2 separate regions of the Homo sapiens genome follow, and region 2 is linked to region 1. Evidence: promoter capture Hi-C in 16 types of primary human blood cells and fetal thymus (Javierre and others, 2016). All regions are on one chromosome and are shown on one strand. Each heading gives the region's core, a stretch centred on a gene start or on the middle of the fragment in contact. The rest is flanking DNA. Distances are from core to core; before and after follow the strand shown.

Region 1 (5,321 bases), core at 1,737-4,236:
TTTCCCGTTGAGGGAAGGGAGATGGATGTGAGATGTTTCTGGACTTACCCCTTGGCAGCTGCTCTCACCTTCTGATCCAAGCGGCTTCCCACAGTCCACAATGATGAGGCAAGGGCAGGGGTGAACTTGGGCACTTACAGAAACTCCAGGGGATGAAAACGCTGTCTGAATGCTAGGTTCCCACTGTGCCTTAGTCTCCAGCCTGCAGAGGTGGGTGAGTGGGTGGATGATTCTGTGATATAACCAGGGTCACAGGGCAGCAACCCCAAGGCTGGCTGCCCCTGCTTCCCACTCCAGACATCTGGTTACAACTGCGAAAGTGAGGAAAGTGGACAATTCCATCCAGAGTTCTGTAGCTCCACTTCTTATGTGATCAGGACCCTCTCACGACCACAGGCTTTGCATCTGGGAGGTGTGGCTGACAAATCTGCCCTGAGATTGGATGTCGAGGGCTTGGGGTCATGAGGTAGGTGAAGCTCAGCCTGCACAGGTGGGCGCGCCCCTTTTCTGAGACTCTCTGACCTCTCACTGCCTGAAGGGATGAACTTGTGGGTTCCGTAGTCAGAGATCAGAGTCGGAATCCCAGCTCCACGCTTTTTGGAGCCTCCTCTGTGCCTGGTCCGGCGCTGGATATTGAATGTCAGAAATCAAAACCGCGCCAGTGCAGGTGGGTTGTAGGCACTACCCACGTGCCCTGTAAATGATGTTTTGTAAAAGCCTAAAATCTTGGCATTTGTATCTGAATGCCAGGGTCCTTGCCATTTCCTCTGCTTTGAAATAACAGCATAACATGGAAGGAAAAGGAGAGTACGTTTATAAGAAGAAGTGCTGAAGAAGCAACGGATGTGCAGATGCATGTCATGGGCCTCCCAGGGAGCAAAAGAGGAAGCCCAGGAAAGGGACACTGGGTGCTCCACACTCAAGGCATCCAATTCACCACTCTGAGCCTGTTTCCGCCTCTGGAAGATGGAAGTGAGAAGAGAATCGCTAGTTGAGCAAGGCGGCTGAGAGGGGCATTGCTCTAGCCCGAGCCAGGCTGTGAGTTAGTCTGGGCTCTGCTGCTGCCTTGATGGGAGACCCCCGTATGTGGTGCAACCCATCTAAGCAGGAGTGGTAATTATGTTCACTTCGTAGGGCGCTTCTGAGAATTCACTGAGACCATGAAACAACTGGACCTGACACAAAGTGAGCCCTCCTGATGCAGTGGCTGAATTTTGATGTTATTAAAATCTTTTGAAACTCCAGTGAGGAGAGGGGTGGGGTGGGCTCTGCAACATGTTAACCCACAGAAATATGAATTCCTCACATGACTCAGGGAGGGAGGTCCGTGCTACAGGAAGATTGGTCATGCATATGGATTCACCTGGAGAGGGCAGATCGGGAAGCGTCATGCAGTTCTGTTCGATGCCTCACCTTGGCCACCTGAGGCCGCAGCTCCAACCTCTGCTCCCTACCAGGACACTGAGCTGGAAGACTGGGGTCCTAGTCCCACCTCTGCCACTCTTTGCTGTGCAACTTTAGGCAAATCGCTCACCCCCTGAGGTTCATTTCCTCCCCTGTAAAGGATGGAATGGAACTCAAGGATGCAGCATCACTCCTTCTAAATTCGGTGAGTGTGAATCTGGAGAGAATGGAAAGAGGAAGGGAAATGGCCCTGTGGGCTGCCATCCACATCCAGCCGATTCCCAGTCTCAACTACTCCCTCTCTCATTTATTCCTCCCAGTGAGGCAGCTTTCAAGCAGTCAAGAACCAAGACTCTGGAGCCAGACTGCCCGCCAGCTATGTGGCTTGGGCCAGTTGCTGAACCTCTGGCTTTAATGCGCTCCCCCGTGAAGTAGGATGATAGTATTAGGCCTCATTGGGGTTGTCTTGAGGATTACCGTGCACGGAAGAATATTATCTACATGCCTCTGAGATAGGTCTGGGATTCCTGGTTTACAGATGAGGAAGCAGAGAGGATCAGATGAACATCAGACAGGAAGAGAGAAATCTGTGTGGGAAAGGCGGGTGTGGGAGCCGAGGATGGATGTGCGCTTCTCCCCTCCACCTCCCTGTCGCACACTGCACCACGCTGGCCTCCTCTGGGCCAGTCAAATACACCAGGCTGCCTTCCGCCTCAGAGCCTTGACGCCAGCTCCTCCCCTGCTTCTTGCGTCATCCGAGTCTCAGCCACACGTGCCTCACAGAGGGCCTTCCCGACCACCCCGTCTGATGGCAGAAGCCTCCTTCCCGCCTCTCTTGGGGTCCCTGCCTCCCCTCTTCCTGCTCTCTTTTCATCCTGATCCTTATCACCACGTGCAATCCTATATCTGCACACTTACTTCCTGGCTTCCCCTTAGACTGTAAACATCATGAGGGCAGATACTTGCCCGGCACATGGAAGGTCCTCGGGAGAGGAAGAGGCACCATAGCTAGACCAGAAATTCTCCCTAGCCACGTGCAGCCCCCTTTGGGACAGGACTGGCACAAACGAGGACTGCTCTGCCATCCACCGTGCAGCTACTGGCGTGGTGCGCCCTCCTGGAACCCCGTGGTATAGCTGTTATGATCCCTTTCACAGTAGCATAATCAAGACTCCCAGGAGAGACGCGGCTTGCCAAGGTCTCATCGCCCTTCAGTGGCAGAGACAGCCTTGGAGTCGGCCGGCCTCACTCCAGGGCCAGAGCCCCGAGAGCTCCGCGGCTCGCGTGTCTCAGTGCCGAAGGCAGAAAAGCCGCCTTGGAAAGTAGTGTCATCGTAGGCTCCGCGCGGCGCGTGCATTTTAGCAACAGACTTCCAGGTTTCCAGCGCGGGCCAGGAAGGGGCCGGCGCCCCGCGCCCCGCCGGGTGTGTGACTTTGCCGCGAGGGCGCAGCCGAGCGGCCGCGCCTGATGCTGCTGTTGCCATGGCGACCAGCGCCTCGGCGATTGGTCCGGCGCGGCCGCACTACGTTGCTCCTTGGGCGCGGGGGGTGGGGGAGGCTCCGGCGCGCCCGCCCCTTCTCCGGATGCTGCGAGAGCAAACCCGGGGCAGCCTTCTCTCGACCCTCCCCTCCTCATCCCCGCGCCCCGCACCCCGGATGGACGGGAGGGAAAAACCCCAAGGTGGGCCCAGGTAGCAGCGAGGTGGACGCCCCCGCCCAGCCTGGCGACCACGGTTACTCGACGTCCTCGCTCGCTCCTGGGCACGGTGTGAGCGCGCGCTACGTGCCAGGGCCCTCCACAGCCCGCTGCTGGCGCCGCCCCCCGCTCCCGCCCCAGCCTCCCTGGAGGAGCCCGCCACCCCCGGGAATGTGACTCGCCCCGCGATTTAATTTTATTCCCCTCCACTTCTTGCCTGAGCCGCCTGCTCCTCTTGGAAACACGTTGAGCCTCCCCGCTGGAGAGGGAGCCAGAACAGGGAAGAACGGATTCACACAGGATGGCTTGCAGAAGACGCTATTTGTGAGTATATGTGGCAGGTTTCTGCCTGAAGCCAGAGGCCAGAGGGGCCCGGCTGAGCTGGGAGCTGGAGTGAGGGGCATCGTTGGGGGAGGGGCAGGTGGATGTGCAGGTGACTTGCAGAGGGAGCTGGCCACCCAGCAGGGATGCCGGCGCTCGGCCCCTGCAGCGGAGGTGTTTGTTGGTGATGACGATGAGAAAAAGGCTATTAGTCAGCAGGTCTTCAGCAGGCTGTGAAATTCCCAACTGTGAGAGCAGGTATCCCCCCTCCCAGATCCACATTCAGGGTGCCCAGACCGGCTCCTACTGTTTTGGCTTTGGTTTAGCCCATAGCCTGTTTAGGAAGAGAATCTCTGCCCAGCACGCCCATGGCCAGCCCTTCAGCCATGCCTGATAGAAGGTCGCAGGCAGGCTGAGGCAGTGGCCAGGATGCTGCGTCCTCCAAGGGCAGGTGAAGGTCCAGCCCACCGTCCCTAGCACGGAGGCATCAGTGTCCAGCTGTGTGCCCAGGTGTTCTGTGGGCTGGCAGCAGAGCGGCTGTGTGCTGGGCCTCACGCCAGCAGCAGAGGCTGTGAAAGTCTGCACGGGGCGGTGACATCACGGGCCCGGGTATTTATGGAAACCAAAGCCTGCGCTTCGGTTAGCCAGGCTTCCCAGGGGGCAGTGGGGTTCGAATGCCAGCTTCCCTCACAGCTCTCTGGGCGCTGCACTGTGCTGTTCTAGGAGGAGCAACCTTTGCCCTCCTCTGGGACCCTCGGCTGCGGGGGTTGAGGCCCAGCGTCAGGTCTCCACCTGCCTAAACTATTTGCCCAGGACCCACTCATTTGGGGCTGTGCAGTGACCTCAGACCTTAGGAGGTTAGAGAGCATGGCTGAGTCCTCTTGAGCTGGGCTCAGTCGCAAGGCTAGGAAAAGGAGGCCTGGAGCAGTATGTGGGGAGCCTTCTGGGGGCTACCCCAAGGCCTCCCTAATCGATGGAGGCCCCTTACCATGGCAGGGGCCTGTGGAACCCCTGATAGAGTGGCAGCTCCCCGTCACCTCCACTGAGGGAAAGTAAACACACCTCTGCCTCTGCTGCGTCAGCAGTGCCAGGCGGCAACCCACGGGGGATGGCGGTGGCCTCTGGTTCGGGGGATGGCGGTGGCCTCTGGTTTGGGGGATGGCAGTGGCCTCTGGTTTGGGGGATGGCAGTGGCCTCTGGTTCAGGGAATGGCAGTGGCCTCTGGTTCGGGGGATGGCGGCCTCTGGTTTGGGGGATGGCGGTGGCCTCTGGTTCGAGGGATGACGGTGGCCTCTGGTTCGCTGTGATGCTCACTTGCTTTTTTAGTGGAGAAGCTCACAGGTTGGTTTGTCGATGCGAGCAGAGCACACCAAAGTTCTCACTCCCTGTGGCAAGGCCCTCGCTGCATTTTCTGAAACAAATAGTAAATCCTTTCCCAGCGTGGAACTTCCACCCCAGTGGCTGGGAATAGGTCCTCCTGAGACAGCTGTCTCCTCCCTGCCACACCTTTGCCTGGGCCCAGGAGCCTGATGCCAGAGAAATTCTAAACTCTCAGGGCTGTTACATCGGGGAGGGGAGATGTCATGAGGATGAAATGTGACAATTCATATTCAGATTACTTGGCCCAGTGCCTGCTTGCCTCCAATGCTCAGAAATGTCATCCTCACAAAGGCCTTGTCTGGGCAGGCACTAAGAACCCCATTTTAGAGATGGGGAAACTGAGGCTCAGCACAGTTCTACTGGAACCCTGGAGTATACTAGCCTGGGGTGGGGGTTGTAGCCCAGGAGCTATACTGGAATCACTTGAGGAGCAGTTAAAGAAACAAACAAAAAAAAAAAAACAAAAAAAAACTGTGTGGGTCCCACCCCCAGACATTCTGGTTTCTAGGTTTGGGGGAGGG
Region 2 (5,321 bases), core at 1,251-3,750, 580 kb before region 1:
GTCCAACCCTCCTATTGCATAGATGGGGCAAGTGAGGCCTGAGTCAGGCATTGACCCATGCGATGAGTCAGGGCAGAGCCAGGGCAGAACTAACAGCACCTGCCTTGACCTCTTGTGAGCCCCTAGGATACCTTGGTTCTGACTCACCCTTAAGTCTCAGGACTAGAGGTCTTCAGGGGTCCAACAGCCCAACACCTGCCCCTTTCACAGCATTACTGGCAGATGGTCAGCCAGGTGCTGCTTGGACATCTCAGGTGACTGGGAGAATGGTTCCTCCCTCCCAGTCCAGCCCAGTCCTGCTGAGTTCCAACTGGGAAACCCGGGCCACACACAGAGGTGGAATTGGCCTCCAGTCCTTGGCCCCAGCTTACCCTCTGGGCTCACGCAGGGGCAGAGACCAGGACTCCCTGAGGCTGCTTCTCTCCAATCTCATGGGCATTTGCTGCCCTGCCACTCTCTGAATTCTGCTTTTGGGAAGAAGTTCAAGCAGGAGAGAGCAGGGAAGAAAATACAGACTCATTGGGGCCTTCTCAGACTCTGGGCTTTGATCTCAGTGGATAACAGAGCAGCGGAAGCTCACCCAGGCCTCCCATGTCACAGGAAGGGACCCAGCGCGTGTTGAGCCCTGGCTGTAGACCATGTAGAGCACTGAGTGCTTTTCATACACTGTCTGCTTCAATTTCCATACAATGCTCTAAGGAAGGCCCAAATATTCACCCCATTTTACAGATAAGGAAACTGAGGTGCAGAGAAAGTTGCCTAGGATGGCCTTGCTAAAACATTCATCTTCCACCCAGGTGTGTCCCACTCCAAGATGTGCACTCTTTCTGGGCCCAACCATGCCCCTCAAACCTCGAGCAGGTCTCAGTGCTGGGTCTGCCACTGGCCCACTGCTCCTCAGCATCCCACGCCCACCCCACGTCCCAGTCAGGACAAGACTCCAACTTGCAGCAGAAATTATGAATAAGGCAAAAGAAAGTTGTCCTGGCCCCTGTGCATGCCTTAAGTATTTAAATTCTTTTTCATAATTATCTCAAATAGTAATTATTGCAGGAGCAATGCGCTTATCGCAGACATGAAACCACCTGCCTTCCCATTTTTGTCAAAAGTGGAAACACTGACATTATTTTTGCGATTCGTTTCAATAGCTGTTTTCACTGTAAATACCACCTTAACCACAAGAAAAATACCCCGGGAGACGCTGGAGGTATTGGAGGTTTCAGAGGAATTATTCCAAGAGGGCTGTGGGTGTCTCCCAAGCACACAGAGAGAAAGGAACATGGAAAACTGTTTCCTCTCCAAGCCAAGGGGGAAAGTGCACCCCGGGGAAAAGTCCCGTGGAAGGGGGCTCACAGGTGCCCCCCCAAGTCCCCTTCCTCCTCTCTGCATCCAACTGCCATCCACACTGCCACCTCCACCCACCCACCCTGGGCTGCCCACCTACTGGAAACACCTCATTCCCTCTGAAAAACATCAAAATCAGGAGGCTCCCTCCCAGGCACCATCGGGAACTAGGGGCCGCAGCTCCAATAGGAAGTTCGAAGAATTCAAAGACTAGAAGGGACCAGATTTCCAAGAATGCAGCTTTCCAAGATTACACAGTCTGGCATGGGTGTGGGCGGGGGGAGGTTGGAGAAGAAAAAGGAACATCCGGAGCTGCAGCCTGAGAAACCACCTGCCCTAGAAGGGAGGGCCCCAAGACATGGTTGGATGAGCCGTGAAGGGAAGCAGGCATCTTGGATTCTAGTCCTATGCCTGCCACAGGGTGGCCTTGGCCAGGCTGCCAACCCTCTCCCGACCTCAGCGTCCCCATCTGTCAAATGGACAAAAGTCTTGAGGGGACCCCTGGGCCTCTCATTCCTGGTGAGTATATGGTGGGCAAACACCTCTTCTTCCCAAGCTTCAATGTTCTCCTCCGAATAGCAGGTCTCTCCCGACTCTAAGCCCCCAGGTCATCAATGCAATTGTCATGATTACTAGTTATTGTCACTGGGCATTGACTAAGTGCCAGGATCTGTGCATGCATTATGCATGTGTACCTGGCATACAGAAGATCCCCACACCATAGTCCTACCATCACTTTACGAGGGTGGAAACTGAGACTCAGGGAGTTGCCCAAAGTCACACAGGTAGTTGTGTGAGGCACACATGGTTGCAAGAAGACAACGTTCCCGAGCACTTGCGATGTACCCCCCTAGAGATGAAACTCTGCTTGCTGCCACTTCACAGATGCAGGCATGGAGGCTTGAAGAGATGAGCCTTCCAGAGCAGTGGAGTGGAGCTGTAATTTCAGCAGGCACTGTTCATGCTGCTTAGGAGGGAGGAACTTTCGAAGAGAGATGTGATGCTGGGTACAAAGAAGCAGCAAGGGAGGGGTCCTGTCTCCAGCCCCGGCTACCTGGGAGTCCCCAGGGTGCTCAGATTCAGTCCTCACCCTCCGCCCTCGTCCCAGCCGTGTTCTCTGCTGCCTCCGTGTGGTCGCTGGGGTTGACGCAGCCTTCCGGAGCCACGCAGCTCTGGGGCTGTGGAGCTTTGGGGCTGTGGAGCTCTGGGGCTGTGGAGCTTTGGGGCCGTGGAGCTTTGGGGCTGTGGAACGGGCTTGAGTAAGGAAGGGGTGACTGCACCGGGCAGAAGGCAAGAGGGCACTGGGGTGCAGGGCACAGTACTGCCCGGGAGTCTCGCTCACTACACTCCAGCCACGCCTCTTGTCAGCACATTCCCACTTCCCAGCCTTTGCTCCTGCAGGTCCCTCTGCCTGGCGCACTCTTCGCTTCGCTTTTCACATCATCCCATTTCCCGCCCAATGGCAGCCCCGCTGTCTAACCAAGGCCCCTCGCTGGTGCCCTCTGACCCCAGTCCTGCTTTGTTGTTCATCTTCCTACTTGTCTCCATCTAATGTCATACTATCGATTTGTTTATTTGTTGACTATCAAATTCTCCAGTAAAATAATATCAGCTCCAGTGTCTGGCACACAGTAGGTGACCGATAAAGACTTTTGGAAAAATAACTGCATGAACATTTCCACTAAATAGCTGTCCCAACTTGTTCACCCCCATACGGCAGCTATGAGTAAAACTGGGAGACTTCTTCATAAGCTTGGGACCTGTCTTCCCAAGGTCCCGGTCCTGCCCACAGATCTACCAGCTCCTCCTAACCCTTCTGCCCCAGGACAACCCTGCAGAGAATTAGGGACAGCAGTGGGGACCCCCTCCAAGCTGAGCCACCCCATCTCCTGACAGAATGCTGTCTCCAGGGCTTGCTGTTCATCTCAGGGTCCACTGATGTGTCTGGAGCTGAGCATAGGAGCCAGAGAGCTCAGAGAATAAAGCAAAACTGGATGTCCCCTCCCTCGTTGCAAGTATAGACCTTTGGTAATGTGGCCTGACAGACACAGTCATCCACTCAACAAATATATCTTCATGCTGCTCCATGCTGATACAGAGGGGTCTATAGAAATGAATCAGGCATGGACATTGCTCATGCAAGAGACATACGGGCTTGGCCCACTTCGTCCTACACACCTCTGTCTGGCCATGTGGCTTTGGGCAAGTCCCTTATCCTCCTCTGCTTCAGTTCCATGTAGGTACAGTGCGAGGCTACTGAAGATGGTCACAAAGCCCCCATCTCACTGATGTTGAACCTGTCCCTGCTCTGAATCTGTGCCTTCATAAGCACCCACACCTGGTGTGCCCACCTGCCCCCTCTCCAACTACTGTTCACCTCCCACTTGCTGCTCAGGGCATGGAAGCCACAGCAGGGAAGAGGGATGGATGGCTCAGGGGACAACCAGGGGCACCGAGGGCTGCCCTCCACCTGCCCAGCACCTTTCGAGGATGGCCCGACAGCTGTTGTCATCACTCTCTCCTGGGAAGAAGGAGACAGCCGGCCCAGTCTCCCCATGAAAGCCTCCCTTGCTGTGTGATAAAGTAGGGGAGACTCCTCCCCATGTTTGCTAAGCACCTATGTGTGCTACACCCCATCCCTGACGTGCCCCGCATGAGAGGCAGCAGTGCCCATTTTACAGATGGGGAGCCTGGGGCTCAAAGTGTTTTGCAACTGGCCCCTGCCACCTAGCTGGTTTGCATCTCCAAGGCCTCAGTCTTGGCCTGGCACAGACTTCACCACTGTGGCTCAATGTACTGGGGCCTCTCATTTTCCTTTTCTTCCCAGGAAGAGAAAATTTTGGACCAAATATTCCCTGCAAGGTAGATCCTGCTATCTTTCTCAAGACCCTGAATCTCTGTGCTCCAATGTAAGTCTCTGGGCTCCTGACCCTGTGAGTCCAATCCACTGTAGCGAGTGATGGTAATCATCACCTCGGGTGCTGTGCTAGAGCTTAACTGCACTGGGTGTCCAGTCCTTGCCACAACCCGATGGGGCTGGTACCATCAGCAGCCCCATCTCACAGATGGGAAACCTAGGCCCAGAGAAGTTAGGGGACTTGCCTGGAAAATGGCAGAGCTGGGATTTGAACCCAAGCCATCCGGGTGCCTCATGGCTACACTGTACTGAAACTCTGAGGGCAGGGGTCCTGAATTCTGCCGCTGAGATTCCAAAGCAGCGATATTATAGACACCTAAGAGAGTGTCATCTCCTTAATGGGATGTTCCCGGGACTTCCTCCTCCTGCTCTCTGGGAAAGCCTTCAGGCCCAGAAAAGGATGGCACCTGTCTGTGCCTTCCAGAGAGGTGGCCCAAGGCGCCCTGCAGTCTCTGGTTATCTCTGGGCAGCCACTCCCCTCGAAAGTGCGAGGGGGAGGTGGCTCCCTGGAGGAGGGGTCCCCTAGGGTTAGCTTGGCAGGTCCCTCCAACCCAGGTCCCACTCACACAGGCACTAATGGCACTAATGGGGGAAGCCAGGGCGGAGCGTCGAGGGGACCATCACGCGCCCCAGGGGCAGTGGGCAGACGCAGCAGGGCAGGCGGCCGGCGCGGATGGGTCTTGGGCGCGCCTGGGAGACCCTCAGGCCTCGCGCGTCCCCGGCGCCGCAGCGGCCCCTGGCGGCGGGCGACCTCCGGCTGAGGCCCTGGCCTTGGGCGCGGGCGGGCCCTTCCTGCTTAGCTGGACGCGCCGGGCGGCCGGGGCGCCGGGAAGAGGAAAAGGCGCTCAAGGCCCGGCCGGGAGCGGCTCGGGGACGGCCGCGGGCGGGCAAGGGCGGAAGGCGGCGGCCGGGCGGCTGCCAGCGGGAGGAACCGGCCCCTTGGCCGGCCGAGCCTCGCCAACTGCTGGAGGGAACCGTCCCCACAGGGGCCTGGCGTCCCGGCCCCAGCCCCGGCCAGGGGCTGCGGGTTGAGCCCGTCGGAGAGCCTGGCGGGCTGGAG

Evidence for each region. Contacts are between HindIII fragments. The CHiCAGO score rates a contact against its expected background, and 5 or more counts as called.
Region 2: a contact is called between a fragment that was not itself captured here and the fragment with the promoter of IQSEC1 in region 1, in 1 of 17 cell types (fetal thymus). The highest score is 6.2, in fetal thymus.

Annotation. Positions count from the first base shown.
Region 1 is chr3:13,071,094-13,076,414 of GRCh38, reverse strand. It overlaps IQSEC1 (IQ motif and Sec7 domain ArfGEF 1), which reads left to right and starts at 2,986. Exons shown (of 14, transcript NM_001134382.3): 1 at 2,986-3,423. The coding sequence starts at 3,401. RefSeq lists silencers at 2,611-2,790, 2,911-3,070. The HindIII fragment of the contact is 20,266 bases long and covers 1-5,321 here.
Region 2 is chr3:13,655,169-13,660,489 of GRCh38, reverse strand. The region is part of intron 1 of LINC00620 (long intergenic non-protein coding RNA 620); the gene reads right to left. Among named protein-coding and RNA genes, the nearest start is that of LINC00620, 7.1 kb to the right of the region's middle. The HindIII fragment of the contact is 1,196 bases long and covers 1,903-3,098 here.